Linked DNA regions of Homo sapiens: regions 2, 3, 4, 5, 6 and 7 are each linked to region 1. Evidence: promoter capture Hi-C in 16 types of primary human blood cells and fetal thymus (Javierre and others, 2016). All regions are on one chromosome and are shown on one strand. The core of a region is centred on a gene start or on the middle of the fragment in contact, and the rest is flanking DNA. Distances in the headings are between cores, read along the strand shown.

Region 1 (3,004 bases), core at 250-2,749:
TACAAAAAAATTAGCCGGGCGTGGTGGCGGGCGCCTGTAGTCCCAGCTACTCGGAGAGGCTGAGGCAGGAGAATGGCGTGAACCCGGGAGGCGGAGCTTGCAGTGAGCCGAGACTGCGTCACTGCACTCCAGCCTGGGTGACAGAGCGAGACTCCGTCTCAAAAAAAAAAAAAAAAGTTTTTTACAAAGCCTTTTCCTTTGGTCACTCACCACCAGCTTACTCATTTTTTTTTTTTTTTGCACATTACCTTCCACACAAGTTTTACTTTGTGGCCACAATGTGCATACTTTTTTTGATTGTTACTTTCATGACATAGCAAATTGTTTCTATAGAGTCTTTATAAAGGTCATTTAAAATGACATGTGCAGTAAGTCAAAGTCTTCTTGTGCTAGGAAATTTGAAAAAACAAAAGTGTAGAGAAAAATACAAAAATTACTGAATCTGAACATCTATAGAGAAGTGTTGTTAGCAGTTGGTTTATTTCCTTCCAATCACATACAGATCATATCTGATGGGTAAAGAATATTCCATACTGTCAACAGACCACACTGTCTTCTAAAATCGCTTCAGCAGTGAGGATCCTCTGGAATAGATCTTGTTAATCCTGAGGAATTATTCTCCCAGCGGTGAGCTATGAGAAGTGGAATCACCAGATGTAGTAATTCCTGACAGAACTGCCGCCTGCTTGTGTGGCTGAGATGCTGACCTAGGTATCAGGCTGGTCGCGCCGGAACCCAGCACCCACGCTGAGTCTTTCTGAGCTCCACTCTGCTCCTGTTAGATATTAACCACCTGAGGTAGCTGTCCAGATTCAAGGCGGTAGTGATTTTGTGTGTCTGTGTATTTATCACGGGGTCCGCGGCGGGAACGCAGGGGCTGTGTCCCACGTCCCCAAACCTCTAGTAGGGTACGGCGCGATGAACATCTTCCATAAACCTTAAACCTCCCGGCGCTCAGTCACTGGTTCTTATTTCAGCCCTCTTAGCCCCGTAGGTCGGCGCGCTGAAAACCTTTCTGGTACCTGGGGCCTTTCCTAAGAAAAAGGCACATGTCTCGCACATTTCAGTCTGGTCTGCAACTTCAGGCGCGCCAGCACCCGAGGTTCTTCCGACCGGCCGCTCCGCTCCCAAGCCGGGAACTTCCCAGAGAATTGGCTCGGCCTCCGGGCGCGGGGGACAGCATCGGGAGGAGTGGGACTCCGGGCGCCGCGCACGGGCCGAGGACAGCCGGGCTTGGGAGGCCCTGCCCGCCGCCCCGCGTCCTCCCGGCCACTGCCACCCCGCGCATCCGGAGCCGCAGCAGACTCGGCGGGGCCCGGAGCCCCACGCCCCCGGCCCGCCCCTGGCCGCCACTTGTTTACTCCCCGGCGCAGCCTAGTCCGACCCTGGGGCCCGCCCCCGCCCACCGCCTATTGGCCGAGGAGGCGCGAAGAGCCGTAACGATTGGCCCGGGGAGGCGCGGGGCGAGCGGGGTAGGCTGCGCGAGAGGCCGAGAGGGGGCAGCAGGCGATGGCGGCGGCGGTAGCTGCGGCGGGTCGGTTAGGCTGGTTGTTCGCCGCGCTCTGCCTGGGCAACGCCGCGGGGGAGGCCGCGCCGGGCCCGCGAGTGCTGGGCTTCTGCCTGGAGGAGGATGGAGCGGCGGGCGCGGGTTGGGTACGCGGAGGGGCGGCGCGGGACACGCCGGACGCCACCTTCCTCCTGCGCCTCTTCGGCCCGGGCTTCGCCAACAGCTCTTGGTCCTGGGTGGCCCCGGAGGGGGCGGGCTGCCGGGAGGAGGCGGCCTCCCCCGCGGGCGAGTGGCGCGCGCTGCTGCGCTTGCGCCTGCGGGCCGAGGCCGTGCGCCCGCACTCGGCGCTGCTGGCGGTGCGCGTGGAGCCGGGTGGCGGGGCGGCTGAGGAGGCGGCGCCGCCCTGGGCTCTGGGCCTGGGGGCGGCCGGGCTGCTGGCGCTGGCAGCGCTGGCGCGAGGCCTGCAGCTGAGCGCGCTGGCGCTGGCGCCTGCCGAGGTGCAGGTGCTGCGCGAGAGCGGCTCGGAGGCGGAGCGTGCGGCGGCGCGGCGTTTGGAGCCCGCGCGGCGCTGGGCCGGCTGCGCCTTGGGCGCGCTGCTGCTGCTGGCCAGCCTGGCGCAGGCGGCGCTGGCGGTGCTGCTGTACCGCGCGGCCGGCCAGCGTGCGGTGCCCGCCGTGTTGGGCAGCGCGGGGCTCGTGTTCCTGGTGGGAGAGGTGGTGCCGGCCGCCGTGAGCGGGCGCTGGACGCTGGCGCTGGCGCCGCGAGCGCTCGGCCTCAGCCGCCTGGCCGTCCTGCTCACTCTGCCCGTCGCGCTGCCCGTGGGGCAGCTGCTGGAGCTGGCGGCGCGGCCCGGGCGGCTGCGGGAGCGGGTGCTGGAGCTGGCGCGCGGCGGCGGCGACCCCTACAGCGATCTCAGCAAGGGCGTGCTGCGCTGCCGGACCGTGGAGGACGTGCTCACGCCCCTCGAAGACTGCTTCATGCTGGACGCCAGCACCGTGCTGGACTTCGGCGTCCTGGCCAGCATCATGCAGAGCGGCCACACGCGCATCCCGGTGTACGAGGAGGAGCGCTCCAACATCGTGGACATGCTCTACCTCAAGGACTTGGCCTTCGTGGATCCCGAAGACTGCACGCCGCTCAGCACCATCACTCGTTTCTACAACCATCCGCTCCACTTCGTCTTCAACGACACCAAGCTGGACGCTGTCCTGGAGGAATTCAAGCGAGGTAACGGCCCGGGCATGGTGCAGGGGACGCCCGTGCGAGTGCCCTCTCCCTGAAAAGGGGTGGAGAGTTATGGAAGCCTTCTGGAAAGGGTCCCACCCCTGTGGAGAGCAGTGAGACCTCTAAGGTCCCTTTTCAAGACGGTATTGGCCTTGCAGCTTGGAATGACCTTTTGAAATACTTAAAGGCCATCGATCAGAGTGGGAGGAATCCTTTAGACAGCGAACACTTTAACCCCCGCGTCAGGATAGCCCCCCCCCCCCATTTGCAGGG
Region 2 (2,957 bases), core at 182-2,681, 560 kb before region 1:
TGCAGTAGGCCGTGTCAGATTCCACTCACATTACTGATGAGGCCAGGCAGTTGGAGTAAGAAAAGTAATATGTGCAGGCTTCAAGGAGCCTGTATTGTTTCTTTGGCTGGATGGTGAGCACAAGGATGTTCATTTGATTATCCTTAAAAATGTACATCCATGACATATACTCCTATTGTCTTATGTTTCATTATACATGAATTTTACTAGTAAGGAGACATGCACATGATAAAAAGCTTCCAAGAGGACATCCCTCCCCTTGCGGATGTCCACCTGCTCCTCTCCAAAGGCAAATATTGTTGGAGGGGCCTTGTATACCCCTCCTGGAACAGCCTGTGCACACAGATGGGTGAAGTGCCCCCCTGGGGGATTTACCACACAGCTCAGATGAGGAGTCGGGGGCTCCAGAAGGTGAAGTGGCTTCCTCCAGGCCACACGCTGCAGAGCTAGATTCCAAACCATGATCAGGCTCCCCTACACTGTGCTGCTCGGAATCACTAAGTACCAGACTCGGCCACTGTATTTTTCCCTGGAGATAATCAATCAATTCCTAAAGAGTTGTGCGTGAATGAGGGGTCAGAAGCTAACAGGAATACTGTTGGAGCCATCCTCAGAGCCAGCTGCTAAGCTCACTAGAGGAACAGCTTGAAGCAATGAAATCTCTCTAAGAAGCAAAAAAGGTTTGGGTCATTAAGTCCTCACATGGGGAATTATTGGGCAAAACCTGCCAGGCATGGTGTCTAAGCTCCTGCAGCATTGCAACCATCAGAGCCTGCTCTAGGAAGTGGTCAGGACACCGGAAAGGCTTGGGACCTGGCGCCGAATCCTAGCTCTAGCAGAGACTGTGTTACTTTGAGCAAGTCCCTTGAGTGCGCTGGACCTCTGTTCTCTCATCTATCAAATGAAAACAATAACATCTGCCCCACCCACCACCAGGGCATGCTGGGTCAGCTGACACCGTGCCCATGAAAGAGCAGCCACCTGTGCTGTTATTAACCAGAGGCTGTTTCAGCTGGGCCAGTGTGTCACCTCAGCATGCCTTTCCTTCTTCTACCAAGACTTCCTTGACCACACGTCAGCCCGTGTGGACCAAGGCCTACTAAAGCCAGACTAAGGGCCTACCCTACAAGTATGACAATATGATAGAGAGAAGAGACTTTTGACCTAAAACTCCAATAGGTTTTGTTTCAATATAACTGCCTTTCCCCACTCCAAAGCTGTGAGTAAACCCTCAGGGTTAGTGAGAAAACCAAATATGAAATTCCCTTTGGGTAACGTTAACAGATACCCCAGGGGCCTGCCCCATGTAACAGGTGGGTTTTCCTCAGAGGGTCTCAGAGCACACCGGAAGAACAGGCAGTTATCCTAGACAGGCTTGGAGCCCAGCTCAGAGACTCTTCTGGAGTCAGTATCTCAATGTCTTTCTCTCCTCCCTTCCTAGACGTCGGTACAGCAGGGAAGGCAACAAGCACCTGCTCCCATGAGGGGATTGCTAAAGAAAACCCCTGAAGGTTATGTATGTAGGATTTTATTCGAGAGAGAAATGGCATGCAACGCAGGACCCTAACTTGAAATTCAAGCCAGTGGTGCAGTCCACGATGCCCTGGCTAGACACAGAACACCTCCTACCTTCCAGCTGTGCTCTGGCCTGTTGATTTTGGTAAACACTGCTTGGCGGTGCCCTCTAGTCATCAGGGAAGTAGGCAGCTGTAATAGGATCCCATGGAACTGACTTTGCTCAAGGTCACTGGTGAGTCACCAGGCTAGATTTGTTTTGAAGGTCCTGCCTCTTCCTGTCTATCTGCCCATTGCTCTAACCACTCCTGACCCAAACAGTCTGCAGGCAGAAAGGCTTAAAAGGACTTCTGTCCCACCCCGCCTCCCTTCTTGCTGGAGTCCCTCTGAATTAGAGACACTTCCCCAATGCCCCAATCCCTCTTTATGCATCTGTGCAACCTGCTCAGCGTCTCCTCACTGTGACCTTTTTAGCTTCCAGACAGGCCTGCGACACAGGCCTCTTAACAGAGCCCTCTAGTGCCCAGCCAGGTTATCCCACAGACACCAACAGGCCCCGCAGGGCCTGGCAGTGTCAGCTGCCCCAGTCACCACCTATCAGGCACACAGGCTCTCCCTGGAAGGCCCTTGATCTTCCAGTGGCTGCTGTCAATTGTGATTCACCTGACTTCTACTCCCCAACTTCCTCATTCTCCAAAGATGCTTCCTGGGGCTGTTGCCAGTGCCCTTTGGTGGCCACACTTGAGAGGCAGAAAGGCTCAGAAGAAATGACTATCTGCGGCCCCTCTTTCTGGGGTCTAGAGGTGTGAGTCTATCTCCACCCAGGGCCAGGTTGAGAGCTGTGTGAGAAGCAGGCACCGCTTGCAGGGGCAGTGGAGAAAACCCAGGATGAGGTCTTTTTTTTTTTTTTTTAAAGGAAGGGTCTCACTCTGTCACCCAGGCTGGAGTGCAGAGGCACGACGATAGTTCACTGCAGCCTTGAACTCCTGGACTCAAGTGATCCTGCTGGCCTCCTGCTTCAGCCTCCCAAAGTGCTGAGATTACAGGAGTGAACCACCACACCCAGCCCAGGATGGGTTCTTTGGAGCCAGCTTTCATTGGCTAAAGCCTCTGAAGCTTTGTGAATGACAATGGGAGAGTGGCTTTGCCCTGGGATCACCAACTAAAGCCTCAACACTGAGGCGATGAAGTTATGACAAAAAGCACAGCTTTGGCTGGGCTTATGATAAAACTCAACTAGAATAGGAAAGTGATAAGCCTCAGGCAGCTTTGATGGGAAATAAACTCGGAGCTCACTAAGGTGTTGCAGTAAGAGTATGGACTTTGGAGTCAATGTCCACTCAGATTAGCTGAGCAAACTACCTAGCTTCCCTGAGCTGGGACCTTTTGAAGTGGGGCTGAAACAGTACCTACCAAATAAAGATGCTGTTTAGGAGGAAAAA
Region 3 (2,700 bases), core at 50-2,549, 630 kb before region 1:
GTAACTGTACAGACAGACCCCAAGTGCAGAATCAAATTGCCCTAAGTCAGAACATGGAGCAACCGCAACTCCTTCGCACTTGTGCATGTGTGTGCGCTCGCAGACGCACACACACACACACATATTCTCTCTCTCTCTTATGCACACATCCATCCACATCCCAACAATTGCAGGTGCTAAGTTTGGACATAACCCAGGGACTCTTCCCTGACTTCTGTCAGGTCCTGGAAAGAAGAAGTAATAAATGAAAAGCAGCTGGGACTGCTCGATGCATCTCTCCTCTTCCAACAATGACGCGGAGAAGGCAAGACATACACTGGGGCAGCTACTTCCTTGGCACAAAAATGAACAGGCAACAAGAAGGTCAAGGAAGTGTTTAAGTTAGTCTCAGGTTTAAACCACTTTTCAACACCACAAAACAGTAGCAAGCAGGAAAACAAAAACAAAAACAAAAACAAAAACTCTGGCCCTCAAGACTCCAGAAAAAAGGGAAGGAGGAGGATTTAAAACTTGATCCCTATTATTCTAACAAATTGCAGCATGACCATAAGCAAAACCAGCTCGGTCAAACTGACAGCATCAGATTGTGACCTTATCTGAACAGTGTAGTTCACTTTTATTTTGGCTCTGAAGAGAGGAAGAAAAACTTTTTAGAGGAACTTAATGGTAACATAAACCAAATCTCCACTGTATTAGTATTTGAGACAAGATTACATCTATGCATTCACACAGCTTGTCTGTAGATCTGAGAGCTCCAAGGGAGTGGCCCAGCCCCCATTCCTCTGACTTTAGCCTTCTGAAAAGAACAAGTCAAACCTGAAATATGAAAAATAATACCTGAATCAAAATGGTGTTTTCTATACAATCGGACTAGGGTAGAATCCTGCTCAATTCCTCAACTCCTATTTGACACAAAAGTTAAAAAATTTTTAAACTAAATTTAAATGTGATGTTTTGAGCATCAAAAAGCTACTATCTAAAAGGATTAGTCTCCCAGTGTTCTTGGTAAATGGGGAAGGTTAGGAAGGAGGCAATGATCCAATGAATATAGAAGAACTGGCCGATTCACAGGAAACTTGCTTTGGATAAGGTGAGTCAATGGGTGATATTGTGCAGGCAGGGAGGGAAATTTCTTTGTACAAATTCATGTCCCTGGCCAGGCATGGCCCAGGAGTTCAAGACCAGCCTGGGAAACAGAGTGAAACTCCATCTCTACTTAAAAAAAAAAAAAATTAATAATAACTTCATGTCTCTAGAGATAAAAGCAAGGTGCGGACAAGGCACTTAACATAGCCAAGTATCGTTCACACCCATTCACATCATGATTGTTACCAAGAGCACTCCCAGTAGCCCCTCATTTGAGAGACTCAACTGGCCAACTATACTTTCCAGGTGGACCTGGAGAACTGAAGGAAATCCAAAGCGCTGCACAATCGATGGTGGGATTTGGAATGTCAGCAGAGGAAACTACTCAGAGAAGCAAATGGAGGTCATCCCCTTCTGGCCTGAGGTGAGAGGTTTGTTCCAGATTAGCTCAGTGAGATACCGAATTTCAAAACAGTTGGCCTGAGAATATGACAACACTCCCACAAATGTAGCCTTCTTCTGTTTTGATAAGAGCAATAAGGGCTCTGAATGAAATGGGACATCAGTTATTGAATTATCTTGCACTGGAAGTTACAGCAGATGCCTTCTAATACATGTGGCATGTCCCCCTTCTACAGCAGAGTGATAACGGACTGAGACAGGGCTAGAAGCACCTTGTCCCTTCTTATCCCAAAGCCTGTCAAGCATACTCAATCCGAGCAGGGCCACAGCTGCCCTCGTTCTTTCGCTCAGAGGACTGGCTGGTGGCCTTGGCTTCACTACTCATTTCCAGAGGCTTAGCTGAGATGTAGTCCTTTACTTTAATCTCCATATTCTTGGCTTTCAGAGTGGCCATGTGCAGCTTCTCCAGGAAATCTGGCATGCCTGTCAGGAGACGAGAATCAGGTTAAGCTGACATACAAACCAACAGTAGGCTCAAAATGAGAAGACCCTATTTCTTTGATGGTAGGGAACTAGTTCTTCCTTATAAAGATCACAACCTGACTAGCCTGTGAATAAGAGCTGCCTCCCGGAATGTGTTCCCAAAGCATGGGTTGTGAAAACTCTGTCTCAGAAAAAAAAAAAAAAGAAGAACCAGAAGAGACGTTTTATTTCCCCATTAGGAAATAGAGAAAAACAAAATGCTCAACCCAGGTTCCAGGCCCTGTATACTTGCCCTTACTTACCACTGGAAACCATCCAACTAACACAGTAGCGAGGAAACACCGTTTGGGGATTGTCACTGTATGTTAGTAAGTAGTCAAAGCCATTCTGGAAAAGAAAAACAGCAAAAATGAAGATCCCTGAATCACCAACCACAACCTCCATATCCAGTACCATAGAATAACTATGATCTGATTCTGGAGCAGGGAGTGTCATTTCTTTTTTCACCCTGTGCAGAAAAGAGTTAACACTGAAGGCCTGAGAGACTACTATCTATAGAAAGGTCTCCTTGCAATGTTGACCCTTGGCCAACTTCGCTCCCAGTCAACAGTTAGCTGATATGGGTGGCTCCCTGTGCATAGACTATGCAAACAACGTGGTTTATGCTGAACACAGGCTTTGCTTTGCAGGGTTTGGAATTCTGGTATGTGCTAAGCAGACGGTACTAAG
Region 4 (2,914 bases), core at 244-2,743, 680 kb before region 1:
AGCATTGCTTTAGCTGTGAACCATTGGCTTTTCTAGTCTTTCATGATTTTTTTTTAGAATTGCTGTACTTTAACTCCAGAGCTGAAAGAAAGTTTTGTTGTTTTTTTCAATTTCTGAATAGGAGAAGCTTTCGGTTTTGATGTATCGGTTTCTACTTTATATCATGATCAGAATGTTTACATTGGTCTACTTTCAGAGTTGCAGGTTTTCATGGCATTTCATGGTATATCATAAAATTATCAGGGTAAACTTTCACAACTGTTCCACGAGCATTGGGAAGGATCAGTCTGTTTTCAGGGTACAGAGTCACTTGTCACCCCCCTCACAACCTCCCCAGCCTGGTCTGATTCAATATCCATCCCCTCCCCCTTTGTGAGGTGCTACCCACGTGCCCCGTCACCCCTTTCTCTGTGACTCATGTTTGCTGAGAGCCACTGAGAAAGCGGTGTTTGGGGCCTGGGAAGGTCCTTGGGCCCAGGCAGCTTCCCTGGCTGCCTCACCTGGCTAACATGACAGCCCTGAAAGGTCTCGTGCTGGACGCCCTCCACCTGCGGTAGGCCTTCCTGCTCCAACCCCTAAGCCAGACTCCCACCCAAACCTCCTCTGCCCCTCCCTCGTGGGGCTCTTCCTGCCTCCTGAACCAGACCATCAAGCCCACAATGAGAGAGACCCCACCATCACCAGGATCTGATCCCCGGCGCCACACAGCCGCTGCCAGCACAGGAACCACAGCCCACCTGCCTCCAGCCTCCACTCTCCCATGGCCACAGTCTGTGTTCCTTCTGCCTGCTCACTGGCACCACTGGCACATGTCCCAGCCCCACAGTGCTGCCCTCAGCCCGTGGCCCAGCACTTGGCTTGTGCAGCCTGCTACCTTGGGGTCCCACTTTGGCTCAGCTCCCCAAGCTGGCACACAGCCCCAGTCCATGGTGGTGGTATCTGGTACATGAGACCGCTGCTAGAGTACTCAACAAGCAGGTATCATGGGCACTGCCTGCCCCATCGCCAGGGAGAGGACAGTGTCAGGGATGAGAAGCGAGACAAAGCAGGTGGTGGCGCCCTAGCTAAGGCACAACTACAGGTGGGTAGAGGAAGGCCTGGGGCCCAGAGCAGCACCCAGAGTACCACCTCCAGGTACCAGGTACCAGACAGAAGTGAGACCCCCACCTTCCCCACAGGAAGCAGGCAGGTGATGGGGAGGATGGATAGCCTCACCCATGGGGACCAGGCGACTTGGGCCCAAGCCGTGCTGTCCCCTCCCCGGCACCAGCCTGTCCTGCGTGTGGCCTGGCTCACCTGGCAGGATCTCGTTCCAGTTGACACGGATATAGCGGTCCCGGTCGGCCCGCGTGTGCTCGTGCCAGAAGCCCAGCACATGCATGAGCTCATGAAGGACAATGCCCCGGCCCTTCTGGAGACACGTGGGCGCCAGGGAGACCACCTGCATCCCTCCACTGCGCCCCACACTCGAGAAGCACCTGCAGGGTGATGAGAGCAAGTGGGGTAAGTGCCAGCCCAGATCCCTCCGGACATACAGACCTGGGCTCTCCCTCCCCACACAACACAAGATAGACAAACTCCCAACAGGCAGGCCCCACTCTGGGCTCTAGTCTCAGGTTCACCATTCTCCAGGCCCCTTTACTGCCTGGACTTCTGTGAAATGGCCATACCGGACCCCCATCACCAGCCTGGGCTGCAGGGAGGCTGCAGAAACTGATATATGAACACAGAGGACAGAAGCAGCTTACTAAGTGAGCACACCCTCCTGGTCAGCCCTAAGCCAAGGCTTTCACACAAATTGCCTCAGGCCCCTGACAAGCTAGGAAGCAGGTATCGCCACCACTCGCACCCCAGAGGGGACAGAAGAGGCTCAGAAGTTAGGGGACTTGCCAGGACTCAGTGACTCACGCACTGTCTGCCCCGCAAAACCTCCTCTCCTCACCACCTCATGGAGTCCCCCGGGAGAGGAGGGCTTTGTAAATGGAGGGTCTAGCACCGTTCCCATCCCTTTCCCACATTCCGCCCTGGAGGTCCAGCTCACACTTGGCAGACCCCTCAGGGTGGGCAGGGAGACTGAGCCCTGGAGGATGGGCCCAGGAATACATTTTAGACAATGGCCAAGTTAATTCCGGGCTGAACGCAGAAGCGAGCTGAGATACGCATCCTGGCCCCGGCACTTACCCATACATGGGGATGATGGAAATGAAGTCTCTCTGGTCCTGATAGGTGACAAACCTGATGCACGTGGAACGTTCAAACTCCGCAAGAGCCTCCAGGATGACCTGGCGGCTGGGCTCATCTGGAAGACACCACCTGGCTGAGCCCCCAGAGCCCTGGTGGTCTTTGAGCTCTACCTGAGGGTCTGGGAGCAGAGCTCTGAACTCACTCTCCCAAAATAGCATCAAGAAAGGGCAGCTTAGTGGTGCCAGGAAGAAGCTGGGCCCCAGACAGACCCTGGCTGTGTGGCCTTGGGTAGGTCACTGTCCTCTGCACCGCATGGTCTCAAGGGGAACCAGATCCCCACTCGACATACCTTCCCATCAGATTTTAACCCTCCCTACTCAGGAGACCTTCAGCAACAGAAGGGCATCTGTGGACAGGTTCTTCGGGTGGGGAGGTGGAAGGGATGTGATGGTGTAAGAGGAAAAGGGAAGAGAGGAACACCTGCCGCATTAGGAAGAAGGGGCTGAGGCAGGGAGGGAGCGCGCCATGCTCACTCACCGTACTTGCTGGAGAGCAGGAAGGGGACCTCCACGACACCACTACCACCCATGGGCCATTTGTTGCTGGTTGCTGACAGCAGTCGGAAGGGACTCTGAGGAGAGAGCAGCAGTTCAACCCCTGGGGACAGAGGCCACCCAAGCTTTGTGCCCCAAGGGTACCACACCCCAGGGCACCAGAACCCCAAAGATGT
Region 5 (2,971 bases), core at 432-2,931, 700 kb before region 1:
TTTTCCCTCCCAGGGAGCCAGTCTCAGGCTCCTCCAGCCACCCTCACCCATTGGCTTGTGATGATGAGTAAGGATGCTTTGTGGACAAAGGCGGGTAGGAAGGGCAGGGGCTTGGGGGAACCAGCCAGCCACATCTCGGGGAGGAGAGGACTACTGGCCCTGGGAGGGAGCCCCAGGTCATTAGGCCAGCACCCAGAGTCTGCTGTGCCAGCAGCTGAGGAATAACTGCTCCAGGCAGCCTTTGGGCAACAAGGACACCACTTACTTATTACAAAATATCCTTTATTGATAAAATAGCTCAGAGTTTAAAAAAAAAAAAAACACCACCTGCATGTCGCAATAAGAGGTCACAGGCAAGAACACTGGGGGTCCCATGGGGCGCACACAAGACCGGCCAGCAGAGGGTCACAGTCAGTCCCTCTCCTGGCCCAGCTCCCCACCACATCCCAGGGCGATACTCTGGCCTCAACAACCCACTGAGGACCAAGCTGGGAAGCCTCCCACACCCCAGGAAGGACTCTTTTTGGTCCCCTCCATTCTCTCTACACCCAGAAAACTCCCTCGGTGCCCTTCCAAATCTAGCAGGTCCATCTGGCCCATTCCCCCGACACCTGCCAAGCTAAGATGCCTACTGGCCCAATGTTGAAGCCAGGCCCTCTCCAAGGGAAGGCCGATAAACCTCCTTTCCACACTTCCAACTGTTCTGGGTGCCAGGTTTTGGGGTGGGACTGAGAACCAGGAAGCAGGGGTCCTCAATGCACAGCCCCATCAGCATTGCGGGGAGCAGCGTGGCTGGGTCCGAGGCAGTCCACAAGCACCCACCTGGGGGGATCAGTTGTGGTTCACAAGGACTCATTTGGGGCTTGGAGACCTGGCCGGGCACTCCAGTGGGAGGCTCCCCTAGGGGCGCACCAGGCTCTGATGCCAGTACCCCACCTGGGGGCGCTGCCACCTGTCACAGGCTCTCATCTTAGACTGTTGCCGAGGTGTGGATATTTTGAGCTGTCTTGGGGAGACAATTTGCCTCCTTGATGACAAAAGACTTATCCCCCACTGGGGAGACCCAAGCCACTAAAAACCCTCTTGGTGTTGCCGGTGAAATGTCGAAACGTTGTCATGTAGCGTAATAACTCAGACCTTTGCAGCCAGAAGAACACATTCTCAAAGAGATCCTTTAACTTGAAATAGTGATTCTGTCTGCCACTCCCGGCTTCCAGTTCGGGGTAGGAATTCACACACCCCAGGGACAGAACAAAAGTCTACAGGAAGACAGGTGGTGGTAAACACAGAGGAAAGGGATTTTTATATCACCATATAATCACATTTTTGGTTCTCTAGTGTGTTCCCCCACAGAGCTCAAAGCTTTCTGCAAAGCCTTTCATCTCCCTGCAGCAAGTAGGCAGTGAGCTATTGTCGCCCCGATTTTTGCAGGGGGTGAATGCCAGTGATCGGGGATCTCCCGTCGAGGCAGAGACCAGGCCTCCAAGACCGCCCCAGCGAGGCATCCACGTGGCCACCCACCTACCGGAGGGGTGCTGGGTAAGGAAGCCGATCCATTGTTCTGGCTTTCAAAGGAACCACAGATCCGAAAACAGGCAAAGGGGGAAAGGAGGGCCCAGAGACGATGCCACCCCATAAGCCCCCATCCCAGCGCCTGCCAGGGACCGCGAGTGCCTAGCGTGGGTGATCAGTCTTCGTTTCTTCCTCCCCCTCAGCAGCAGGCCCCACTGGGAAAAGTGGAAGGCTGGCTCCGTGCTCTTTGTGGGTGGGGGGGAGATGAAAAAGAAACGAAAACACCACAAGCAAGTGACCTGCCAGGAACACAAGGTCCTCAAGAAAGGGAAGCCCAGACATTGGTCTGGAGAGCATGGGGCTCTGGGAAGAAAGTGCTCTCTCTTCTCCTGGTCTTGGCTATGTTCCAGAGGATTTGAACCACCTCCATCGGCCTGTGCTCAGGGAGAGGGTGGAGAAGGGGTCCCCCACAGCTAAGCCGGCAAGGGGAAGCTTCACTGGGACCCTTGCTAGCAGCCCCCCTGCCCACCCCTCCCAAGGGGTTCCTAAGATGAGGCCTACAGGATCTGGGCAGGGAGCAGAAAGCCCAGGGGAGGCAGCCACACACAGCAGGGCAAGAAGCAGGGTGACCCCGGCGCCACCGCACCAACCCCACAGGGGCAGCGCAGGCGGGCTCACCAGGCCGTCTGGGTCCACGGGCGGCACAGGATCCTCCGGAAGGCACGGCGGAAGTCCTGGTTGAAGATGGTGTAGATAACAGGGTTCAGTGAGCTGTTGCAGTAGCCGATCCAGAAGAAGAACTGGAAGAGGCCATGGGGCACCTTGCAGTGCTTCGGGCAGATGGCTCCCAGGCTGTAGCTGAAGAAGAAGGGGAACCAGCAGAGCACAAAAACGCCAATGACCACAGCCAGCACGAAGGTGAAGCGCTTCTCCCGGGTCAGCTGCGCCCGTCGACGCCACCACTGCCCACCTATAGCACCCACGCCCCTGCCCAGGAGCACCTGGCCACGTAGGGTGGCCAGCACCCGGGAGCCCTGTGGCTGCTGCAGCGGGGGGCTGCAAGCTGAGGCCGGAGACACTGGCACTGCCTGGGGTTCACACTCTTCCTCCTCCTCCTCCTCCTCTTCCTCCTCTTCAGCTTCATCCTCTGGAGATGCCCCACAAACACCCTCCTTCTGGCCCTGGCCTGAGTTGGGAAGGGCAGCCCAACTGGGTGGCAAGGCCCGGGTCCCAGTATCTTCAGGGGTCTCCCCCTCCTCCTTCTCCCCAGTGGACTTCGAGTGTCCGTTGACCTCTCTGGCAGAAGCCACAGAGGCCAGGGCTGGCAGTTTGGCTGAGGCCAAAGCCCCACCATGGTCGGGTCGGGGCTGCTTGGACTCACCCTGCCCAGGCCCCCCCTTGGCCCTGGGACCTCTGCGGTTGCTGCGTTTGGCGATCAGGTAGATGCGCAGGTAGACAA
Region 6 (2,786 bases), core at 281-2,780, 650 kb before region 1:
AGGGTCTTTTTCCGTGGCTCAGAACATGCTGTACCAGGTGGCCGCCTCTGCTGGGTGTCACCTTGCTTCTCACAGCCCCCTCTCTGCTCACATCCTGTTTCCACCCCTCCAACACTGCTGGGCCCCGCGCCCCCAGCCTCCGCCCCCAGCTGCTGGGTTTTCACGTGGCCTTTCCTGGGTTGCTGTAGGGGCACAGGCCTCTTATTTTTAGCTCCTTGGGGGCTGAAGGAATTTACATCTGAGTCTGCTCTCCTGAAGAGACAGACGGTTTCAAATGTGTCTAATGTGGTCTCCCGGGCAGCCTCAGCCTAGGCCAGCACTAAGGCAGAGGGGAAGGAGTGAGACGGCCAGCCCAGCATCCGGAGGCACACCATGTGGCCTCAGGCAGGGCCCGCAAGCCAGCTGAGCCCCACTTTCCTCAGCTACTAAGTGGGAACCCTGGGGAGGTGACCCCACTGCTGTGAGCCAGGAATAAGGATGCCCATGGGATGGGCAGGGAGGCCCTGGAGATGCCCATGTCAGGGGAAGGAGCCCTCACTCTGGGCCGGAGCCTCACCTACCACACCACCCTGCACAAGTCTATCACACATTTGTTATTTTCCCTAATTATCCCAGAAATCCCCCAACACTAGGAAATTTGGAACACACAGAAAAGATGGCAGAAGACAGAAATGCGTTGCTCATAACCCATCACAGTTCCTATGTGGAGCTGCCCCTCTCTGAGCCCTTTGCAATGCCCTCAGAACGAAAGGCAGGAGGGGAGGTCCCTTACTGAAAACAAAAGCCTACTGTTAGCCCAATAGGGCCTGGCAGGGAGCCCCAGGCAGTGTCCACCAGCCCTCCTCAGGCAGCATCAAGGGACCCAAGCCCCTCTCCCCCTTCCCTTCCTCCTTCCCGGCTGATCCCAGCAGCCCTTCCCTGGTGGCGGCGCTCCCAGAGCCCTGCAGTTTTTCCCCTCCCGAGGTGGGTCCAGGGATGGGCTGTAAGGCCGGGCCTGCCCCCAGGAGACCGGAGACCGCAGCACACATCCTGCAGTGAATATGACTGGTAGTCGCTGGTCCCAACCTCCTCCCTACCAGACGCAGAGGCTTACCCTACACAGACCTCTCACACTTGGCAGAGCCATGTGACTTACTCCAGCCAATGAAACACCACCTCCAGACTCAGGCAATAAAAAGCCCTGTGCGATTTTCCCACTTGCTCATCCTCTGCCATGTCGATGGAGGAGATCTTGAGTTCTCCAGGCACCGCAGCTGCATGACAGCCAGTCGGCCGCATCCGAAGGGCTCTGCCCACTTTTCGACTGGTGAAAACCCACTCCCTGTGGCCCTGTTCCACCACACCCCCAACTTCCATCCTATTTTCCAGTCTATTAAATGGTGGTGGCCACCCCACCACCACCTAGGTCCTGAGTTTCTCCTCAACCTTCAGACAGTTAGTGACATGTACGCTGTTCACTCCACTCCCATGGACCCTATTTATAATTTCATAAATAAAATAAACTATTATGAAATTATATTTTGGCATATACAAGGAATTTTTACAAATCAAGAAGAAAACCAGGGGAACTACAGGAAAAATATCAACATAAAAATGGATATAGTCGACCGGACGTAGTGGCTTATGCTTGTAATCCCAGCACTTTGGGAGGCCAGGGTGGGTAGAACACCTGAGGTCAGGAGTTCGAGACCAGCCTGGCCAACATGGTGAAACCCCGTCTCTACCAAAAATACAAAAAATAAAAATAAAAAATTAACCAGGCATGGTGGCAGGTGCCTGTAGTCCCTCCCAGCTACTCGGGAGGCTGAGTCAGGAGAACTGCTTGAACCCGGAAGGCAGAGGTTGCAGTGAGCCAAGATGGGGCCACTGCACTCCAGCCTGGGTGACAGAGTGAGATTCAGTCTCTAAGAAAAAAAAATAAAAAAGGATTATAGTTATAATAGGCAATTCATGCAAGGGAAATCCCAATGGTTAACAAGTATGACAAGAAATATTTAACTCCATAGTAACTAGAGAAATCAAAATTATAACTGAGATATCCCTTTTATACCATCCAGATTGGAAAAACTAAATAAAAATAAAAAATAAAAGGCAGATAATATTGACCAGGCATGGTGGCTCACTCCTGTATTCCTAGCACTTTGGGAGGCCAAGGCAGGTGGATCACTTGAGGCCAGGAGTTTGAGACTAGCCTGGCCAACATGGTGAAACCCTGTCTCTACTAAGAATACAAAAATTAGCTGAGAGTGGTGGCACATGCCTTTAATCCCATTATTTAGGAGGCTGAGGCAGGAGAATTGTTTGAGCCTGGGAGGTGGAGGTTGCAGTGAGACGAGATTGTGCCACTGAACTCCAGCCTGGGTGATGGAACAAGACTCTATCTAAAAAATAAAAAATAAAAAAAAAATAATGTAGGGAAAGCAACATGACACTATTGAGTAAAAACGGAGTATACTGGCTACCCCCATATTAGCAAATCTTTCTGTCTCTTTCCTCTTAAAAAACAAAAAAACAAAAACACATTTCCTATAATGTATATGGAATAAGGCGAGGGAGAAAATAATAGGGGAGTGAGACTCCCATTCTGCCTCGTACGAAATAAGAAATAATGTTGGAGACATACTAAATGTCATCTAAGACCCTTAACTCACACCACATATAAAAATTAACTAACTGGAACAGATCAAAGACCTAAATGTAAAATCTAAAATTATGCAATGTATAGAAGAAAAACATAGGAGAAAATATTTATATCTTGAACTGGACAAAGTTTTCTTAGAACACAA
Region 7 (2,814 bases), core at 103-2,602, 580 kb before region 1:
ATAGCTTAGCCTAGCCTACCTCAAACATGCCCAGAACACTTACATTGGCCTACAGTTGGGCAAAGTGATCCGTCCATACAGCCCACTGTAGAATATTGGTCATCCAGCCTAGTGATCCTGTGGCTGGCAGAGCTGCACTCACTGCTGCTGCCCAGCATCACGAGAGAGCATCGCACCACATATCACTCACCTAGGGAAAGATCAAAATCCAGCATTCGAAATACAGCTTCTACTGAATGCACATCGCTTTCGCATCATTGCTGAAGTAAAAAAAATTAAGTTGAACCTTCATAAGTCAGGAACTGTCATGACAATGTCATCTTTTCTTCTGGGCCCCACTCAAAACTGATAGCCTTTTAAGTTATTCAGAAAATGGGTCAGAGAAGAACATTGAAATGAGGTATACATTGCCTTCAAAATCCAAAACCACTGGGCATTGTGCCTCTTAGTGGTAGTAGGGCCCAGCTTAACATGCCCCAGACCGTTAGGCCCCCCAGAAGGTTCACTGAATGTTTGTGGGATTTATTTCCCACCCTCTGGCATACATATATCTCGTCAAGGTGGCTAGAATAGTTACTACTTCTAATCAGCATATTATCAACACATTAGATGAATGTGATGTCCTGTGGAGTAGAGAAGAGGACAAGGTCTCCACAAACTAGATGATGACAGATGACTGCGAATTGATACAGTCCTGAGTTTGGATAACGAATAGGTATTGCTAGCCCTGTCAGCTCAAAGCAAACTGCTTTTGATGGTCTTTACTAAAAATTGCTGAGGAAAAAAGCATTCATCAGATCAATAGCTGCATACTTTGCTCCAAGGGATGCATTGATTTGCTTCATGAATGAAGGCACACCTAGAATAGCAGCTGCAATTGGAGTCACAACCTAATTGAGTTTATAATAATCCACGCCATTCTCTTGGATCCATCTTGGATCTGCACAGGCTAGAGAGCTAAGCTGAATGGAAATCATCAGCTCTGTGTCTTTCAGATCATTGATTAGTGGTGGAACTAATTTCTGCAATCTCTCCAGGAATGCAGTGCTGCTTTTGGCTCACTGCTTTTATAGGTAGAGGCTAACATTTATATGGTTTGTCTTTTTTTTTTTTTTTTTGAATAGAGTTTCGCTCTTTTTGCCCAGGCTAGAGTGCAATGGCACTATCTCAGCTCACTGCAACCTCTGCCTCCCGGGTTCAAGCAATTCTCCTGCCTCAGCCTCCCAAGTAGCTAGGATTTCAGGCATGTACCACCATGCCCAGCTAATTTTGTATTTTTAGTAGAGATGGGGTTTCTCCATGTTGGTCAGGCTGGTCTCGAACTCCGACCTCAGGTGATCCACCTGCCTCAGCCTTCCAAAGTGCTGGGATTACAGGCGTGAGCCACCTCGCCCGGCCTCCATTTTTTTTCAATTCAGCATAATTTGTATTGTCTCTGAAACTCAGCTTCCTCATCTGTGAAATACAGATAATGATGCCAGCCTTACTTGTGTTCAGAGGTTGTTGTAAGACTCAAATAAGATTGTGTAAGCTAAAATACATTACAAACTGTAGAACCCTCTACAGGGTATAAGGAATAAGCGCTAGAATTATTATTACCTCCTTCCATCCCCTCTTATATAGAAAATTTAGATTATAGTCCCCTTGTTACTATTTCAATCTATGTTTTTTGTTGTTGTTTTTGTTGCAAGTACTTGGAATCCACTCAAAGTAGTTTAAGCATAAATATGGAATCGAATTTGAAAGATCCAGGAGTGTCTCAAGAAGCTCAGAATTCACAGGCAGGAAAGGCACTTGCGCATCATAAGGTGGTAGAAAAAGGAACTGAAAAGGCATTGGGAGCTGTGGCCATGAGAGTGCACTGCTCACATCTCTGAATGCAGGGGAGCGTAACATGGCCCCCTGCTGCTGGGCTATGAAATTCTGCCACTGCATTTGCACTGAGACCACCCTTCTTGTGAGCTGCTCCCACCCGGTGACTGAGTGCAGGCCTGCCATACTAAGGCAGGCCCATTTCTGGGATATGGGGACTCCTCTGACAGGTGGCTTTGGCACAAGCACACCTCATCAGCTCTTGCAGAGCTTTCTTAGAACTACACTACGTTCTAAGCTGGGCATGGTTAGGCATGTGTAGTCCCAGCTACTCAAGAGGCTGAGGGAGGAGAATTGCTTGAGCTCAGGAGTTTGAGGCCAGCCTGGACAACAAAGGGAGACTGTCTCTGAAAAAGAAAGAACTACACTGCGTTCTAACACCTCCTCAACCCAGCCCTCCTCCATTCCTGTCTCCTGGCAGGGGCTACACCTGCATTGCAGCTCTCCCAGGCTCTTCCGGCTTCCTGCTATTCGCTTCACAAGTGTTTTCCCAGCACATCTCTTGCACATTTAGTCCTATCTGGGCATCTTCTCAGAGGACTCAAACCTTAGGACAGGAACCTAAGTAATTCCTCTTTTGCAACTCCAAGTCTATGTGGACTCTTATTTTCTTTCTACTTTTCTACTTCCTTTCTGCTTTACTCTTTCACCCAACCCCTACCTAATCTTCTCAGCTTTTCCATTTATATAAAGAAAAATGTCTGACCCAGTTTCTAAATTTACAAATCCTTCCAGTTTGAGCACTAATTGACACTGATGTCTTTGAATCCTCACTTCAAGCTCCCAAAAGAAAGAATCAAGTGCCTTCACTTGGATTAGGAGCTCATCCCCGGTCCGGTTGTGGTAATTATGGCCAAGGAGACAGGTCTCATGATACAGACAGTATTACTGAGATTCACATCTCAGCTGATGACTTGCTTTGTTTAATGAGAAAATGGAAGC

Evidence for each region. The method cuts DNA at HindIII sites, captures the fragments that hold promoters and counts their contacts. A CHiCAGO score of 5 or more calls a contact.
Region 2: a fragment that was not itself captured here is called in contact with the fragment with the promoter of CNNM3 in region 1 in 1 of 17 cell types (total CD8 T cells); the score reaches 6.0 in total CD8 T cells.
Region 3: a fragment that was not itself captured here is called in contact with the fragment with the promoter of CNNM3 in region 1 in 1 of 17 cell types (total CD8 T cells); the score reaches 5.8 in total CD8 T cells.
Region 4: a contact is called between a fragment that was not itself captured here and the fragment with the promoter of CNNM3 in region 1, in 1 of 17 cell types (fetal thymus). The highest score is 5.5, in fetal thymus.
Region 5: a contact is called between a fragment that was not itself captured here and the fragment with the promoter of CNNM3 in region 1, in 1 of 17 cell types (total CD8 T cells). The highest score is 5.0, in total CD8 T cells.
Region 6: a contact is called between a fragment that was not itself captured here and the fragment with the promoter of CNNM3 in region 1, in 2 of 17 cell types (non-activated CD4 T cells and total CD8 T cells). The highest score is 6.0, in non-activated CD4 T cells.
Region 7: a fragment that was not itself captured here is called in contact with the fragment with the promoter of CNNM3 in region 1 in 3 of 17 cell types (activated CD4 T cells, naive CD4 T cells and neutrophils); the score reaches 7.5 in activated CD4 T cells.

What each region holds. Positions count from the first base shown.
Region 1 is chr2:96,814,769-96,817,772 of GRCh38, forward strand. CNNM3 (cyclin and CBS domain divalent metal cation transport mediator 3) reads left to right here and starts at 1,500. Exons shown (of 8, transcript NM_017623.5): 1 at 1,500-2,734. The coding sequence starts at 1,510. RefSeq lists an enhancer at 647-766 and silencers at 1,107-2,086, 2,097-2,236, 2,247-2,356. The HindIII fragment of the contact is 9,370 bases long and covers 1-3,004 here.
Region 2 is chr2:96,258,866-96,261,822 of GRCh38, forward strand. All of the region lies in intron 2 of TMEM127 (transmembrane protein 127), which reads right to left. Among named protein-coding and RNA genes, the nearest start is that of TMEM127, 5.7 kb to the right of the region's middle. RefSeq lists enhancers at 1-2,487, 736-1,669, 1,670-2,601, 2,075-2,324. The HindIII fragment of the contact is 2,395 bases long and covers 235-2,629 here.
Region 3 is chr2:96,184,944-96,187,643 of GRCh38, forward strand. It overlaps STARD7 (StAR related lipid transfer domain containing 7), which reads right to left. Exons shown (of 8, transcript NM_020151.4): 7 at 2,274-2,358; 8 at 1-1,971. The coding sequence ends at 1,787. Among named protein-coding and RNA genes, the nearest start is that of STARD7-AS1, 22 kb to the right of the region's middle. The HindIII fragment of the contact is 6,166 bases long and covers 1-2,700 here.
Region 4 is chr2:96,131,244-96,134,157 of GRCh38, forward strand. ASTL (astacin like metalloendopeptidase) reads right to left here. Exons shown (of 9, transcript NM_001002036.4): 4 at 2,722-2,815; 5 at 2,182-2,299; 6 at 1,297-1,478. Among named protein-coding and RNA genes, the nearest start is that of ASTL, 5.8 kb to the right of the region's middle. RefSeq lists enhancers at 87-316, 1,319-1,819. The HindIII fragment of the contact is 2,736 bases long and covers 126-2,861 here.
Region 5 is chr2:96,112,611-96,115,581 of GRCh38, forward strand. ADRA2B (adrenoceptor alpha 2B) reads right to left here. Exons shown (of 1, transcript NM_000682.7): 1 at 266-2,971. The coding sequence ends at 2,187. Among named protein-coding and RNA genes, the nearest start is that of ADRA2B, 2.5 kb to the right of the region's middle. The HindIII fragment of the contact is 642 bases long and covers 1,361-2,002 here.
Region 6 is chr2:96,163,846-96,166,631 of GRCh38, forward strand. No RefSeq gene overlaps it. Among named protein-coding and RNA genes, the nearest start is that of DUSP2, 20 kb to the left of the region's middle. RefSeq lists enhancers at 1-32, 913-962, 1,223-1,302. The HindIII fragment of the contact is 5,740 bases long and covers 1-2,786 here.
Region 7 is chr2:96,232,145-96,234,958 of GRCh38, forward strand. All of the region lies in intron 1 of STARD7-AS1 (STARD7 antisense RNA 1), which reads left to right. Among named protein-coding and RNA genes, the nearest start is that of SNORA112, 19 kb to the left of the region's middle. RefSeq lists enhancers at 1,878-1,947, 1,958-2,107. The HindIII fragment of the contact is 9,545 bases long and covers 1-2,814 here.